2 separate regions of the Homo sapiens genome follow, and region 2 is linked to region 1. The links are contacts of gene promoters, found by promoter capture Hi-C in human tissues and cell types (Jung and others, 2019). All regions are on one chromosome and are shown on one strand. The core of a region is centred on a gene start or on the middle of the fragment in contact, and the rest is flanking DNA. Distances in the headings are between cores, read along the strand shown.

Region 1 (7,296 bases), core at 25-2,524:
CTCATTTTCCCTTTGGGGCTCTCCCTCTGAGCTTTATGGAATAACATCAGCCCGAATTCTAGAATAAAATCTGCCGACCTGGCCAGGTGTGGTGGCTCACACCTGTAAACCGAACACTGTGGGAGGCAGAGGCAGGTGGATCACTGGAGGTCAGAAGTTCGAGACCAGCCTGGCCAACGTGGTGAAACCCCCTCTTTACTAAAAATACAAAAATTAGCTGGGCATGGTGGCGGGTGCCTGTAATCCCAGCTACTTGGGAGGCTGAGACAGGAGAATCGCTTGAACCCAGGAGGCGGAGGTTGCAGTGAGCCAAGATCGTACCACTGCACTCCCGCCTGGGTGATAGAGTAAGACTCTGCCTCAAAAAAAAAAAAAAAAAGGGGCAGACCTGACCACACCCTTGGATTTTGTGTGGGGAGAGGCCTCGATGGTTGCTCTTCAGATCCTTTCTTGCTGCCCCTCCCCTCTTTGCCACTCCCTGCCAAGCTCTGTGGCCTTCGGCAGTGACAGGGGCCCCCCTATTGCCTACTATGGACAATGATTGTCTGGAAGGTTCTTCCTAATTTTAAGGTGTTTCTGGGGCCTTGCCTGGGCCTGTTTATGATCTGGAACCTCCTTTCTCTAACCTTACCCAAGCCTAACCTTATCCAAGCTGAGCTCTTCAAAGGCCTTTGCCCTTGGGTACCACAGGTTCTGAGACAAGAGGGCTATGGAGAGCCCCCATTATAGCTGGAGCCTCCTGCCCTGCCCAAAGGTGTGACTTGAAGGGTGGAATTTCAGGCAGCGTGGCTCGCCCCAGGGAGGCAAAGAGGCCAGGGGAATCTTCAAAGGCCCTGGGCTCATCCCAGCTAGGAGGCGGGCACAGTCATAACCCTAATCCAGTGAACTCAGCCCTCATCCTGACTCTCATGGTATTCTGTCCCAGGGAGCCTCTTTCCAGCTTTCTTAGAAGCTTTAATGTCAGCACTTGCAGGGCCTTAGAAACTGCACGCTACCTCTTCATTTCATACATGAGGAAACTGAGGCCCAGGGTGGACACAGGGCTGCCCAGCGAGTTAGTGATGGGCACCGTCTGTGACCCAGGTGTCTTGTCTTATAGGTCACAGCACTTCCTGCTCCATCAGCCTCTTCCCCTCCACCCAGGGCCCCAGGCCCCCCAATCCCTGCTCTCTCCTTACCTGGAATCCCGTATAGAGAAGCGGCTACACAGATGGATATCCTCTCTTCACCGAGGCTCCTGGAATGGTGGCATCAGCCCCCCAGGCAGCCCACTGTGGCTCCTTGCACCAGCCACCACTCACATCACTTCTACTTCCTGCCCCGCCCCCAGCTGTGGTCACAGGTCCTTTGTGCTCTCCCCTCCCACAAGCACCCACCCTGTCCTCAGCCCTCATCCGGCTCCCCACTGACAGCCCTCAGGAAGCGAGCAGCAGGGCCAGAGGCTCATCTGCCGAGTAGAGCTGCTGGGGCTCGGGGACTCAGGGCACACAGGCGGAGGAGGGCGGGGCGCTGAGGACTTTGAGACTCGGCCCTGGTGTTGATGAACAGGCCAGCAGGGCCATCTCCTTGCTTCTGATGCACAGCATCGCATGTGTGGGATGTAAGAGGCAAGCAGAGGCGGCGGCTCAGAGCATGGGCCTACACGCCAGACCGCCGGGGCTTGGGCAGCTCGGTTATGCACCAGCAGTGTGGACTGGTAGGGTTCTTCAGCCTCACTGTGCCTCAGTTTCTTCACTGAACAATTGGGATTGTAGGTCATGTAGACCCTAGGGGTTGTTGTGAAGTGCTTGGAACTGTGCCTGGCCCTTCTTGAGTGTCAGAGCCTGTGGCCATTCCCTCCTCCCTGAGTGGGAGAAGAGAGATGTTGCTCTAATCTTGCCATCCACTTCCTGCTCAACCTACATCCCACCCTAGCCCAGGCTCCGAACTCCAAGCATGTTCCTCGAACAGGGGCTCCTGCTCCTCGCTTTGTGAGGACAGCCAGTGGCCTCCACGCTGGCTCCAGCCCTGCTGAGGTCGTGGGTGCTGGTGAGAGTGGTCTGGTAGCACCGGAGGACATGTCTTCTGCACTCTGCCTTGCTTGAGGTCAGGGTGGGGTGAGGTTTCCATGGGTGGAGTGACTCACAGGGCACTGGGGGGCAAAATCACACGGCTTCTGGGGTGGGGGCAGCTGGGTAAGGGAGGAGGTGGTTCTCACAACTTGTTCTCATAACTGTGTATATGATGGGAAGAAGTGGCCGCAGGCTCCAGACCACATGTGACATCATGTCTCATGGGTCACACTTTGGGGCTCATCCCTTGCGTTTATGTCCCTGCTTCCGTCCCTGCTCTTACAGGAACAGGGGCTTATGCTGTCTTCTCGGAATCTGGCCCCATCTTCTCTCCGCAGTGTCCCCACCCTCTTCTAGAAACTGCAGCCTCCTGATCACTTTCCAGCTGTCACCCATGGCCTGACTTGGATGCTGAGGCTGTGAGGAGTTTCTTTCCTGACCATGACAGGAAGGCCGGTTTGAGGGACATAGAAGTCCTGCAAAGTATCTGCGGGAAAAGAGAGGCAAAGTCTAAACAGGTTCTGATCCCAGCTTCACCAGAAACTTACCGTATGCCTCACGGCGATAGATATCAACCCCCTTTCTGAGCGTTAGTTTCCTCACCTATAAAATCAAAGAGAGGACTTTGGAATTCTACACATCCTTCCAGCTAATGATAAAATGTACACTTGGCAGGTTTCAAGTGGCTTATGAAGTGGCTAATGCCCAAGAGATGCTAGTGGTTGTTAGGGGATCCATTAAAGAGCCGAAATGACATTGAGGGTGATGACTGTTTTTGACTCGTTTAACTGATGACAGCTGTCCTTCTGAAACTTGACACTTGAATGTGCATTAAGCAGAGTTTTTCCTCAGAGACACAAGTTTCAACAAGTGCGTAATTTGTTCAATCACCAGACACCATGTATATGGTTTTCTTTAGTAACAACAATCTTTAGATGTAATTCACATACCATATAATTCACCCATTTCAAGTATATGATTCAATGGCTTTAGTATGTTCACAGAGTTGTACAGCCACCGCTACAGTCAATTTTAGAACATCTTCATCACTTTCCAGAAATAAAACCTATACCCACTGGTGGTCATTTCTCATTTCTTTTTCTTTTTCTTTTTCTTTTTTTTTTTTTTTTTGAGATGAAGTCTTGATTTGTCACCCAGACTGGAGTGCAGTGGCATGATCTCGGCTTACTGCAACCTCTGCCTCCCAGGTTCAAGCGATTCTCCCACCTCAGCCTCCCCAGTAGCTGGGACTACAGGCATGCGCTACCACGCCTGGCTAATTTTTTTTTTTTTTTTTTGTATTTTTAGTAGAGACGGGGTTTCACCATGATGGCCAGGCTGGTCTTGAACTCCTGATCTGCAAGTGATCAGCCCACCTTGGCCTCCCAAAGTGCTGGGATTACAGGCGTGAGCCACCGTGCCTGGCCATTTCTCATTTCTTCATAACGCTAATCTACTTTATCTCTCTGTTAATTTTCCCATTTTCGACAATTCATATAAAAAGAATCATAGCATATGTGGCCTTTTGTGTCTGGCTTGTTTCATTTAACATAATACTTTCAAGGTTCATCCATGTTGTAGCATGTATCAGTACTTTAGTCCATTTCATGGCTGAATAATATTATATTATATGGACATATCACAATTTGTTTACCCATTCATAACTGATGGATTTATTGGTTGTTTCTACTTTTTAGCTGTTATGAATAATGCTGTTATGAACATTTGTGTACAGGTTACTGTGTGGACATATGTTTCCATTTCTCCTGAGTATATATCTAGGAGTGGACTTGCTGGGACATGTGGTAACTATAGGTTTAACTTTTTGAGGAAGTGTTTTCCAACGTGATTGCATTGTTTTGCATTTCTCCAGCAGCTTATGAGAGTTCTAATTCCTCCTTTCCAAATCAAACCAAGGTTCCACTAGTTCCTTGCCAAACCTTGATTATAGCCATCCTGGTGGGTGTGAAGTCGTACCTCATTGTGGTTTTGACTTGGATCTCCCCAGTGGCTAATGAAGTTGAACATCTTTCCATATGCTTATTGGCCATTTGTACACCTTCTTTGGAGAAATGTCTATTCAAGTCCTTTGCCCCTATTTTGAACTGAGTTGTCTTTTTATTGTTGAATTGTAATAGCTCTTTCTACGTTTTGACTTCTAGACCCTTGTCAGATATAGAATTTGCAAATATTTTTTCCTATTTTGGCAGTTGTCTTTCTTTTCACTTTCTTGAGGGTGCCCTTGAAGTATAAAAATATTTTACTTTTGGCCAGGCATGGTGGCTCACATCTGTAATGCCAGCACTTTGGGAGGCCAAGGTAGGAGGATCGCTTAAGTCCAGGAATTCAAGACCAACCTAGGCAATGTGGCAAAACCCTGTCTGTACAAAAAATACAAAAATTAGCCAGGCATGGTGATGTGTGCCTGCTTTTTGGGATAGTTCCAAATAGTTCCAGCTATTTGGGAGGCTGAGGTGCGAGGATTGCTTGAGCCCAGGAGTTCGAGACCAGCCTGGGCAACATGGCAAGACCCTGTCTCTGGAAAAAAAAAAAAAAATTAGCTGAGAGTGGTGGCACACACACACCCCTGTAGTCCAAGCTACTCAGAAGGCTTAGGTGGGAGGATTTCTTGAGCCTGAGGGGTCGAGGCTGCAATGAGCCAAGATCGCACCGCTTTACTCTGGCCTGGGTGACAGATCGAGACACTGTCTCAAAAAAAAAAAAAAGATTTTACAGGCCGGGAGGGGTGGCTCATGCCTGTAATCCCAGCGCTTTGGGAGGCCGAGGCAGGCGGATCACGAAGTCAGGAGATCGAGACCATCCTGGCTAACACAGTGAAACCCCGTCTCTACTAAAAAAATACAAAAAATTAGCCGGGCGTGGTGGCGGGCGCCTGTAGTCCCAGCTACTCAGGAGGCTGAGGCAGGAGAATGGCATGAACCCAGGAGGCGGAGCTTACAGTGAGCCGAGATCATGCCACTGCACTCCAGCCTGGGTGACAGAGCAAGACTCTGTCTCAAAAAAAAAAAAATTTTTTTACTTTTGTTGAAGTTCAATTTACCTATTTTTTTCTTTTGTTGCTTATATTTTTAATGCCATATCTAAGAAGGTTCTGCCTAATCCAAGATCATGAAGATTTATTCCTATGTTTTCTTCTAAGAGTTTTATAGTTTTAGCTCTTATATTTAGGTCTATTATCCATTTGGAGTTAATTTTTGTGTATGGAAAGGGGTCCAACTTCATTCTTTTGCATGTGGATATCGTATATGGTTTTGATTTTTTTAGGTTATAAAATACCTGCTTTAGATAGAACAGTGCCATAAATCTTGCTATCTTGGAATGTTCATGTCCCTCCAAGATTCATGTTGAAACTTAATCCTCAATGCAATAGTATTAAGGAGTGGGGCCTTTAGGAGGTAATTAGGTCATGAGGGTTCTGCCTTCATGAATGGGATTAGTGCCCTTATAAAAGGGCTTGAGGGAGTCTGTTTGTACCTTCTTGCTCTTCTGCCCTTCCACCATATGAGGTCACAGCAACAGGCACCGTCTGTGGAGCAGAGAGCAAACTTTCACCAGATACCACGTCTGCTGGTACTTTGATCTTGAACTTTCCAGCCTCCATAACTGTGAGAAATACATTTCTATTATTTATAAATTATCCAGTCTAACATATTTTGCTATGGCAGCAGGAGTAGACTAAGCAAGAAATTGTGCTGGGAGTGGGGTGCTGCTGTAACAAATACCTAAAAATGTGGAAGGAGCTTTGCAGCTGAGTAATGGGTAGAGGCTGGAAGAGTTTGAGGTTCATGCTGAAAAAAACTTGTATTTCTGTGAACGGACTATAAAGGGTTTTTCTAGTGAGGGTTCAGAAGACGAGGAGAACTGTAGAGAGAGCTTCAATCATTTTAGAGATTATTTAAGTGGTTGCAAGTGGAACATTGGTAGAAATATAAACGGTAAAGGCTACTTTGATGAGGTCTTAGATGGAAATAAGAAACATCTTCTTGTTAAGTGGAAGAAAGGTGATCCTTGTTATAAAGTGGCAAAGAATTTGGCTGCATTGTGTTTGTGTTCTAGTGTTTTGTGGAAGGCAAAACTTATGAGCAACGAAAGAGTATATTTGGTAGAAGAAATCTCTAAGCAAAGTGTTGAGGATGCAGCATGGCTTTTCTTGATTGCTTACAGTAAAATACAAGATGAGAGAAATGAATTAAGGGTGAAACATATAGTTAAAAGGGAAGTAGAACTTAAAAGAGTTGGAAAGTTCTCAGCGTGGCCAGGTTGTAAAGAATGAGAAAGTGTTTGAGAGAGAATACCAATGGTGTGGCCAAGTGAATGTTTGATAGGGAGATTTATATGGCTAGAAGAATGCCAGGTGATATTCATCAAGACGATGGGAAAATGGCCCCCAAGGCATTTTGGAGATCCTCAAGGCTGCCACTACTATTACAGGCCCAGAGTGCCAGGGTTTTGTGGTCCGAATGGTTTCAAGGGAGGGACCCAGGATGCCTTTGGGGCTTTGTGGTTTGCTGCCCAGGGCTGCATCAAATTTCTACTCCATGCATTCTGGCACAGAGCTCGTTGGTCACCTCAAGTGTGGCTAGTGGGCCTAGGTGCAGTGTGGTCTACAGTGGTTGTCCCTTTGGTTGCCCCATGGATACCATGCTCCATGGCTGGAGCGCCGTGCTTCATGCCCACAAGTGTAAAATTGGATACATTGGAGCATGGTATCCATGCAGTGTTAAACTGCAGTGGGGGCATGGCTATGACCACCTGGATTTCAAAGGATGTCCTACAGAGGCTTGGGGCCCAGACAGAGAACTATCATAGATGTGAGACCACTTCAGAGAGCCCCCACTAGGGAAATGTCTAATGGACCTGTGGGGTTGGGGCCACCTCAGAAATCCCCCACTAGGGCTCCCAGTGGAGCCATGGGGGCAGAGTGACCCTGGAGATGCCAGACCAGGAGAGCCACCAGCATGCAACTCCAATCTGGGAGATTCTCAGGGACTGGACTCCAATACATGAGGGCCACTGCGTGGGTGGTGCCAAGCGAAGCTGTGGGGACAGTGCTGCCTGGAAGCATGACTTCCACCCCAGTGTGTGCAGAAGGTGGGGCACAGAGTCAAAGATTATTTTCAAGTCTTAAGATTTACTGTTGTTTGCTCTGTTGGGTTTTGGACTTGGTCAAGGCCTGTCACCCCTTTCTTCTTTCCTATTGCTCCCTTTTGGAATGGGAATGTCT
Region 2 (7,812 bases), core at 1,852-4,351, 53 kb after region 1:
CACCTATTTTGAAAATTCAGTGGTCAGTCACTTCCGAGTAGGAGGAAGCTTCGTCTTGGATGGTTGGAGAGGACTCTGGGAAGCACATAGCTCAGGGGCCCTAGTTTCACATCTCATAACGTGCAATCTAGAGTCCTTTTTTAGCTCATTCCGGATTTAGGCCTGCACACTGTACTTTACTTCTCTGGGTGCTTTGCTGTCTCCATGACCTTGTCTTTCAATGGCTCTCTGTAGCCCTCCACCCAAGGCCTCTGCTCTGCTCCACTGGCCTGAGGTAGCCATCTGCTGACTGAGTCAGGGGCCCTGGGAGAATTCCTGACCTGGTTCCCACCCCACAAGCTCCCAGCTTCCCAGTGCTGACTTGGCTAATTGATCTGGAGTCCTTGCCAAAAATCATATCCTGCAGGCCTGTGGAGCCTTAAACGTGGAGCGGCTGTACAGCCCCGCTGGGCTCAGCTGCTCGGAGTTATAAAAAGAACCGCAGTGCATGTGGTGGGCCGGTGACTAACGTGGCCACTTGGGGAGTCGTCATCAGCTGTTGGGTGAGGTGATGTGTATCAGGCCGCACTCAGTTCCCAAGGTTCAACCCTGGAGGCTGATCTCCTTTCTCACCTCCTTAGTCCAGGCTGCAGGAGAGATTTCTGCCTTGAGCGCAGAACTTAATCAGTGGCTCACTGTCTATCCTGAGTTATGGCTGTGGTACAGCCCAGCTCTAGGCACTGTGGCAGGCCCTGCACTATGAGGAACTGTCATGAGGTGAATGATTTGGCGAGAAATGATATGCTGAGAGTTTGCAGACACTAAAGGAGTGTGAGGAATGGGGAGTGGATTTTGGAGTCTGAAGAGCTACCTCCACATCCCAACTCTGCCACTTACTAGCTGTGTGGCTTTGGGCTGGTTATTTAACTTCTCTGGACCTCAGTTTGCCTTGTCTGTGAAATGAAAACAATACCTACCCCATGAGGGTTACATGAAAAAAACACAGTAGAATCCATTTTAATCTGACCTTGAGTCCTAAGAGAAGGAAGGAGGAAAAGTTATCCCTGGCTGGGTGACACTTGGCATATCCAGCTGTCCCGGGTGGAGCTCTTAGCAGAAGCCCCCGTTTTTTTTTTTGAGATGGAGTCTTGCCCTATCACCCAGGCTGGAGTGCAGTGGCATGATCTCAGCTCACTGCAACTCTCGCCTTTTGGGTCCAAGCGATTCGCATGCCTCAGCCTCTCAAGCAACTGGGATTACAGGCATTCACCACCACACCCAGCTAATTTTTGTATTTCTAGTAGAGACGGGGTTCCGCCATGTTGTCCAGGCTGCTCTCAAACTCCTGACCTTAAGTGATCTGCCCACCTCGGTCTCCCAAAGTGCTGGGATTATAGGTGTGAGCCACCATGCCCGGACAAGCACAGCCTTTTAACAGCAGCCTGCAAGACCCACACTTTACTCCACGAACATATCAATATTACTGTTGTTGTGTTGGTAGGAGATGTTGTCTCCCTGGGAACCTTTTTACTTAAGCCTGGACCATAAACCATGGTAGTAATGGTTCTCTTGCTTGTGGTGGCACATCCATACAGGTGTGCAGCAACCTCAGTTCTTGCCTCCTCAGAAGAAAGAATTTGACTGAGGGGCATAAGTCAGAAGGAGAGACCAAGGCAAGTTTTGAAGCAGGAGTGAAAGTTTATTAAAAAGCTTTAGAGGCTGGGCGTGGTGGCTCATGCCTGTAATCCCAGCACTTTGGGAGGCCGAGGCAGGCGGATCACTTGAGGTCAGGAGTTCGAGACCAGCCTGGCCAACATGGTGAAACCCCATCTCTACTAAAAATACAAAAATTAGCTGGGCGTGGTGGCGGGCGCCTGTAATCCCAGCTACTCAGGAGGCTGAGGCAGGAGAATCACTTGAAACTCTGCAGTGGGGTGAGATCGTGCCTCTGCACTCCAGCCTGGGCTTCAGAGCGAGACTCTTTCTAACAACAACAACAACAACAACAACAACAACAACAACAACAAAACCCCCAAAGCTTTAGAGCAGGAATGAAAGCAAGGAAAATACACTTCGAAGAGGCCCAAGCAGGTAACTTGAAGAACAAGTGCAGGACTTGACCTTTTGACTTGGGGTTTTATACGTTGGCATGCTTCTGGGGTCTTGCGTCCCTTCTCACTTGATTCTTTTTTTTTTTTTTTTTTTAGATAGAGTTTTGCTCTTGTTGCCCAGGCTGGAGTGCAATGGTGCAATCTCAGCTCACCACAACCTCCACCTCCCAGGTTCAAGTGATTCTCCTGCCTCAGCCTCCTGAGTAGCTGAGATTACAGGCGTGCTCCATGCCTGGCTAATTTTGTATTTTTAGTAGAGATAGAGTTTCTCCATGTTGGTCAGGCTGGTCTTGAACTCCCGACCTCAGGTGATTTGCCCACTTCGGCCTCCCAAAGTACTAGGATTACAGGCATGAGCCACCATGCCCGGCCTTCTCGCTTGATTCTTCCCTTGGGGTGAGCTGCCCGCGTGCACGGTGGCCTGCTAGCCCTTTGGGGGGTAGCATGTGCAGTGTGTTTACTGGAGTTGTACACATGCTCACCCGAGGAGTTCTTCCCTTTTACTGGTGGAATGCTCCTGGAAGGTCAACTCCGCCATTTCGTGTCTTAATGCACGTGCTTGAGCCCACTCGCCCAGCTCCTGAGATCTTATAGGAAACTGATGATCACCAGTTTTAGGTGTTTTCTATCTACAGGCAGAATGCCTTTTCCTGGTGCTGGTTGAGACCTATTACTATTTTAGAGAGGCAGTGTGACAACTGCCTAACCATCACCTAATGATCGCCTGATTTTCCTGGTGGGGTGTAGGGGCCCTCTTCTGCCCTGTTCATGTCTCACTAGCTACCCACCGTAACACTCCTGAGCACACTATTGGAGCTGGTGGGGTTTTCTTTGCAAATGCCACCATGTCACCCATAGCTTGGCCTGCAGGTCCCTGCACTAGTGCCAATGTAGATATTTTCTTTCCAAATCTAATCCCTAATTTACACACCCTTTGTGATGATGAGTTCAAATTCTTAGAGAAATTATTTAGCCCCCTGGAGAGACTGCTCTCCCAGTGTGGAGGGCTGGGGCTGGGGTCATATGTCAACATTGTTCAATGTGACACATATTTACTGAGCACCTACTCAGTGCCTATCCCTGGTGAGACAAAAGATGAGTGAGGAATGGCACCTGCCCTTGAGAAACATATAAGAAATGCTTCAGCAAGAAGCGTGTGTCTTTCTCTTGACCATAATGGCAATCTCCTAACACTGGAATAGGGTTAAGAAATCATAAAGAGTTCATGCATGTGTTCGTTGATTCATGAAGGCTTTATAGGGCCTCTACTTTGTCCCAGGCTCTATGCTAGACAGTAGGTAAAGCTGAATTGAAGGTTTTATTTTGCAGTTATTAAGCCTGTGAATAATTTCAGCACAGGAAGCCTACTGTGCCTTTCAGCACAGTTGACTTATGTCCAAGGTACAGATGTGGAACAGAAGAGAGAGTACTGAATGATGTTCTGGTGGGAGAGCAGGATGGTTCTGTGTCTGGGAGTGCTTCACGGAGGAAGTGGCTACTGAAAAAGGATTCAAAGGAAGACTCAGCTTGCCAGGCGGATGCATGGGGAAAAGGCATCCTAGGCTGAGGAAACAGCCTGTGCAAAGGCCTGGGGGCTGAGTCATGGACCAGCAGGGCTCAGAGGCTTTGCAGAAGTGATCTCATCCACCCACTCATAGTTCAGATGAGGCTGGGATGCAGAGAGCGGAAGGCACTGCCTAGAGCTACTCAGCCAGTTAACCACAGAGTTTTGATGGGAACCTGGCCTCCTACCTCCCAGCCACAGCTGGTATTTTCTTCTGCTGGGGAAATGCTACACATCATACACAATACCATCTTTACCACTTGATGGATCACAAGCAGGTATACATTTAAGTCATCTGAATTTAGTTCAAAGTTTGCAAATGGAGAGCAGAATTAGAGGGGCTGGCTGTGCTTTCCATGGGTCCAGATATATAGTGGGTGCTCAGTAAGGGTCTGTGCCCTCCTCCATGGCCAGATGTGGTCGGGGGGTGGGGGCGGGAAGTAAAGGCAACTCCCTGTTCTAAAGGAACACATGGATGACAACTTCCAACTTAGGATGACTTGAAGCTGGGCTTGTGAAGGCTCTGAGCAGCTGGGCTTGGAAGGCAATAATTTCTCAGGCAGAGCATGAGTACCTCTGTGTCTCCCAGTTTGAAAGGGAGCAAGTCATCCTGAAAATAAGCAAATGTCACTTCACCTCCGACCTGGCTGCCCTTTCAGTGGGTGCAGCGAATAAGGCCTTCTCGGTCATTCCGGGCTTTCAGTTTATGGGACTAAGAAAAAGGCAGAAATGCCAATAGTATACAATCATATCTATTTTATTATGCTTTGCTTTATTATGCTTGGCAGATACTCCATTTTTAAAAAACAAAGTAAAGGTTTGTGGCAATCCTGCTTTGAGCAAGTCTATTGGTGCCATTTTTCCAACAGCATGTGCTCACTTCATGTCTCTGTGTCACATTTTGGTAATTCTGGCAATATTTCAGACTTTTTCATTATTATTATATCTGTTATGGTAATCTGTAATTATTGATCTTTGATGTTACTATTGTAATTATTTTGGGGTGCCACAAACCGTGCCCCTAAGACAGCAAATTTAATCAATAAATGTTGTGTGTGTTCTGACTGCTCCACCAACTGGCCATTCCTTCATCTCTCCCTCTCTTTTGGCCTCCCTATTCTCCAAGACACAACAATATTGGAATTAGGCCAAGTAATAACCCTACAATGCTGCCTTAAGCGTTCAAGTGAAAGGAAGGGTGGCATATCTTGCTTCAAATAAGAAGCTGGACATGATGAAGCTTAGTGAGGAAGGCATATGGAAAGCAGAAAAAGGCTGAAAATGAGGCCTCTTGTACCAAACAGTTACAAATGCAAAGGAAAAGTTCTTGAAGGAAATTAAAAGTGCTACTTCAGTGAACACAGGAATGATAAGAAAGTGAAGCAGCTTTATTGCTGATATGGAGAAAGTTTGAGTAGTCTGAATAGAAGATCAAACTAACCATAACATTCCCTTAAGGCAAAGCCTAATCCAGAGCATGACCCTAACTCTCTCCAGTTCTATAAAGGCAGAGAGAGGTGAGGAAGCTACAGAAAAGAAGTTGGGGCTGGGTATGGTGGCTCACACCTGTAATCCTAGAACTTTGGGAGGCCGAGGCAGGTGGATCACTTAAGTCCAGGAGTTTTGAGATCAGCCTGGGCAACATGGAGAAAACCTGTTGCTACAAAAAAAAAAAAAAAAAAAATTAACTGGGTGTGGTGGTGCATGCCTGTGGTCTCTGTTACTTGGGAGGCTGAGGTGGGAGAATCTCTTGAGACCGGGAGGTGGAGGTTGCAGTGAGCCATGATTACACCACTCCACTCCAACCTGAGTGACAGAGTGAGACCCTGACACACACACACACACACAAGAAAAAGAAAAAGAAAAAAAAGTTGGAAGCTAGCAGAGGTCAGTTTCTGAGGTTTAAGGAAATAAGCTATCTCTTTGATGTAAAAGTATAAGCAGCAAGTGCTGATGTAGAAGCTGCAGCAAGTTATCCAGAAGATCTAGCTAAGACCATCAATGAAGGTGGCTACACTGAACAACAGATTTTCACTGGAGACAAAGCAGCCTTATATGGGAAAAAGATGCCATCTAGGACTTCCATAGCTAGAGAGGAGAAGTCAATGCCTGGCCTCAAAGCTTGAAAGGACAGGCTGGCTCTCTTGTTAGGGGCTAATGTAGCTGGTGACTTTAAGTTTAAGCCAATGCTCAATGGCCATTCTGAAAATCCTAGGGCCCTTAAGAATTATGATAAATCCACTCTGTCTGTGCTCTAGAAGTGGAACAACAAAGCTTGGATGACAGCATATCTGTTTAGAGCATAGTTTACTGAATGTTTTAAGCCCACTGTTGAGACCTACTGCTGAGAAAAAAAGATTCATTTGAAAATACTACTGTTCACTAACAATGCACCTGGTTACCAAGAGTTGTGATGGAGATGTACAAGGAGATGAATGTTGTTTTCATACCTATTAACACATCATCTGTTCTGCACCCACGGATCAAGTAATTTTGACTTTCAAGTCTTATTACTTAAGAAATACATTTCATAAAGTGATAGCTGCCATAGATAGTGATCCGTCTGACTGACCTGGACAAAGTAAGTTGAAAACCTTCTGGGAAGGATTCACCATTAGAGATGTCATTAAGAACATTCATGACTCATGGAAGGAGATAAAAATGTCAACATTAACAGGATTTTTTTTGGCTGCCCAGTGCATATAAAAGTTATATTTATGCTATTACATGTACAATAGCATTATGTCTAAAAAACAATGTATGGACCTTAATTTAAAAATACTTTACTGCTAAAAAATGCTAATGATCATCTGAGCCTTCAGCAAGTCATAATCTTGCTCAAGTCTGGAAGTCTGGAGTTTGTAAGAAGTTGATTGCAACCCTCATGAATGACTCTGAGGGATTCAACATTTCAGTGGAGGAAGTAACTGCAGATGTGGTAGAAATAAGCAAGAGAACTAGAATTGGAAGAAGAGCCTGAAGATGGGACCGAATTGCTGCCATCTCATGATCAAACTTGAATGGTTGAGGGGTTGCTTCTTTATGGATGAGCAAAGAAAGTGGTTTCTTAAGATGAAACCTACTCCTGGTGAAGATGCTGTGAATATTGTTGAAATTACAACAAAGGATTTAGAATATTCCATAAACTTAGTTGATAAAGCAGTGGCAGGGTTTAAGAGGATTGATTCCAATCCTAAAATAAGTTCTACTATGGGTAAAATGCTATCAAACAGCATTGTGTGCTACAGAGATGTCTTTTGTGAAAGGAAGAGTTAATCGATATGGCCAATTTCATGGTTGTTTTATTTCAAGAAATTGCCACAGCCACCCCAGCCTTCAGCAACCACCACCCTGATCAGTCAGCAGCCATCAACATGGAGGCAAGACCCTCCACAGCAAAAAGATTATGACTTGCTGAAGGCTCAGATGATTGTTAGCATTTTTTAGCAATAAAGTATTTTTAAATTAAGGCATGTACATTGTTTTTTAGATATAATGCTATTGTACACATAATAGCATAAATATACCTTTTATGTGCACTGGGCAGCCAAAAAAATTGTGTGACTCACTTTATTGCAATATTTGCTTTATTGTGGTGGTCCAGAACCAAACCCGCAACATCCCCAAGGCATGCCTGTATGCCTTCACTGCCCTCGGGGTTTTTTTTTTGTCTTTTTTTTTTTTTTTTTTTTGAGACAGAGTCTTGCTCTATCTCCCAGGCTGGGGTGCAGTGGCATGATCTTGGCTCACTGCAACCTACACCTCCCGGGTTCAAGTGATTCTCCTGCCTCAACCTCCCTAGTAGCTGGGAGTATATGTGTGTGCCACCATGCCCCACTAATTTTTTATATTTTTAGTAGAGACGGGGTTTCACCATGTTGGCCAGGCTGATCTCGAACTCCTGACCTCATGATCTGCCCACCTTGGCCTCCCAAAGTGCTGGGGTTACAGGTGTGAGCCACCACGCCCAGCCGCCTTTTCAATCTTAACTAAGCATTTATTATGTACTGTGGCTGTCACTTTTGCAGTTTCAGGTGTGACAGCAAAACTAGCATGAACTTCTTTTTCCTTCTTCACAATTTCACAGAAGATCTTCGTAATCTCATTGTACAATTTTTTTTTCTTTCCTAATTAAGTTGAAAACTTTCACCTTTTCAG

The links. The method cuts DNA at HindIII sites, captures the fragments that hold promoters and counts their contacts. A contact is called where the count stands out against the background at its distance.
Region 2: a fragment that was not itself captured here is called in contact with the fragment with the promoter of PRF1 in region 1 in 2 of the 25 tissues and cell types used here (H1 embryonic stem cells and mesenchymal stem cells).

What each region holds. Positions count from the first base shown.
Region 1 is chr10:70,601,467-70,608,762 of GRCh38, forward strand. It overlaps PRF1 (perforin 1), which reads right to left and starts at 1,275. Exons shown (of 3, transcript NM_001083116.3): 1 at 1,179-1,275. The HindIII fragment of the contact is 18,183 bases long and covers 1-7,296 here.
Region 2 is chr10:70,652,968-70,660,779 of GRCh38, forward strand. No RefSeq gene overlaps it. Among named protein-coding and RNA genes, the nearest start is that of ADAMTS14, 16 kb to the right of the region's middle. The HindIII fragment of the contact is 4,466 bases long and covers 869-5,334 here.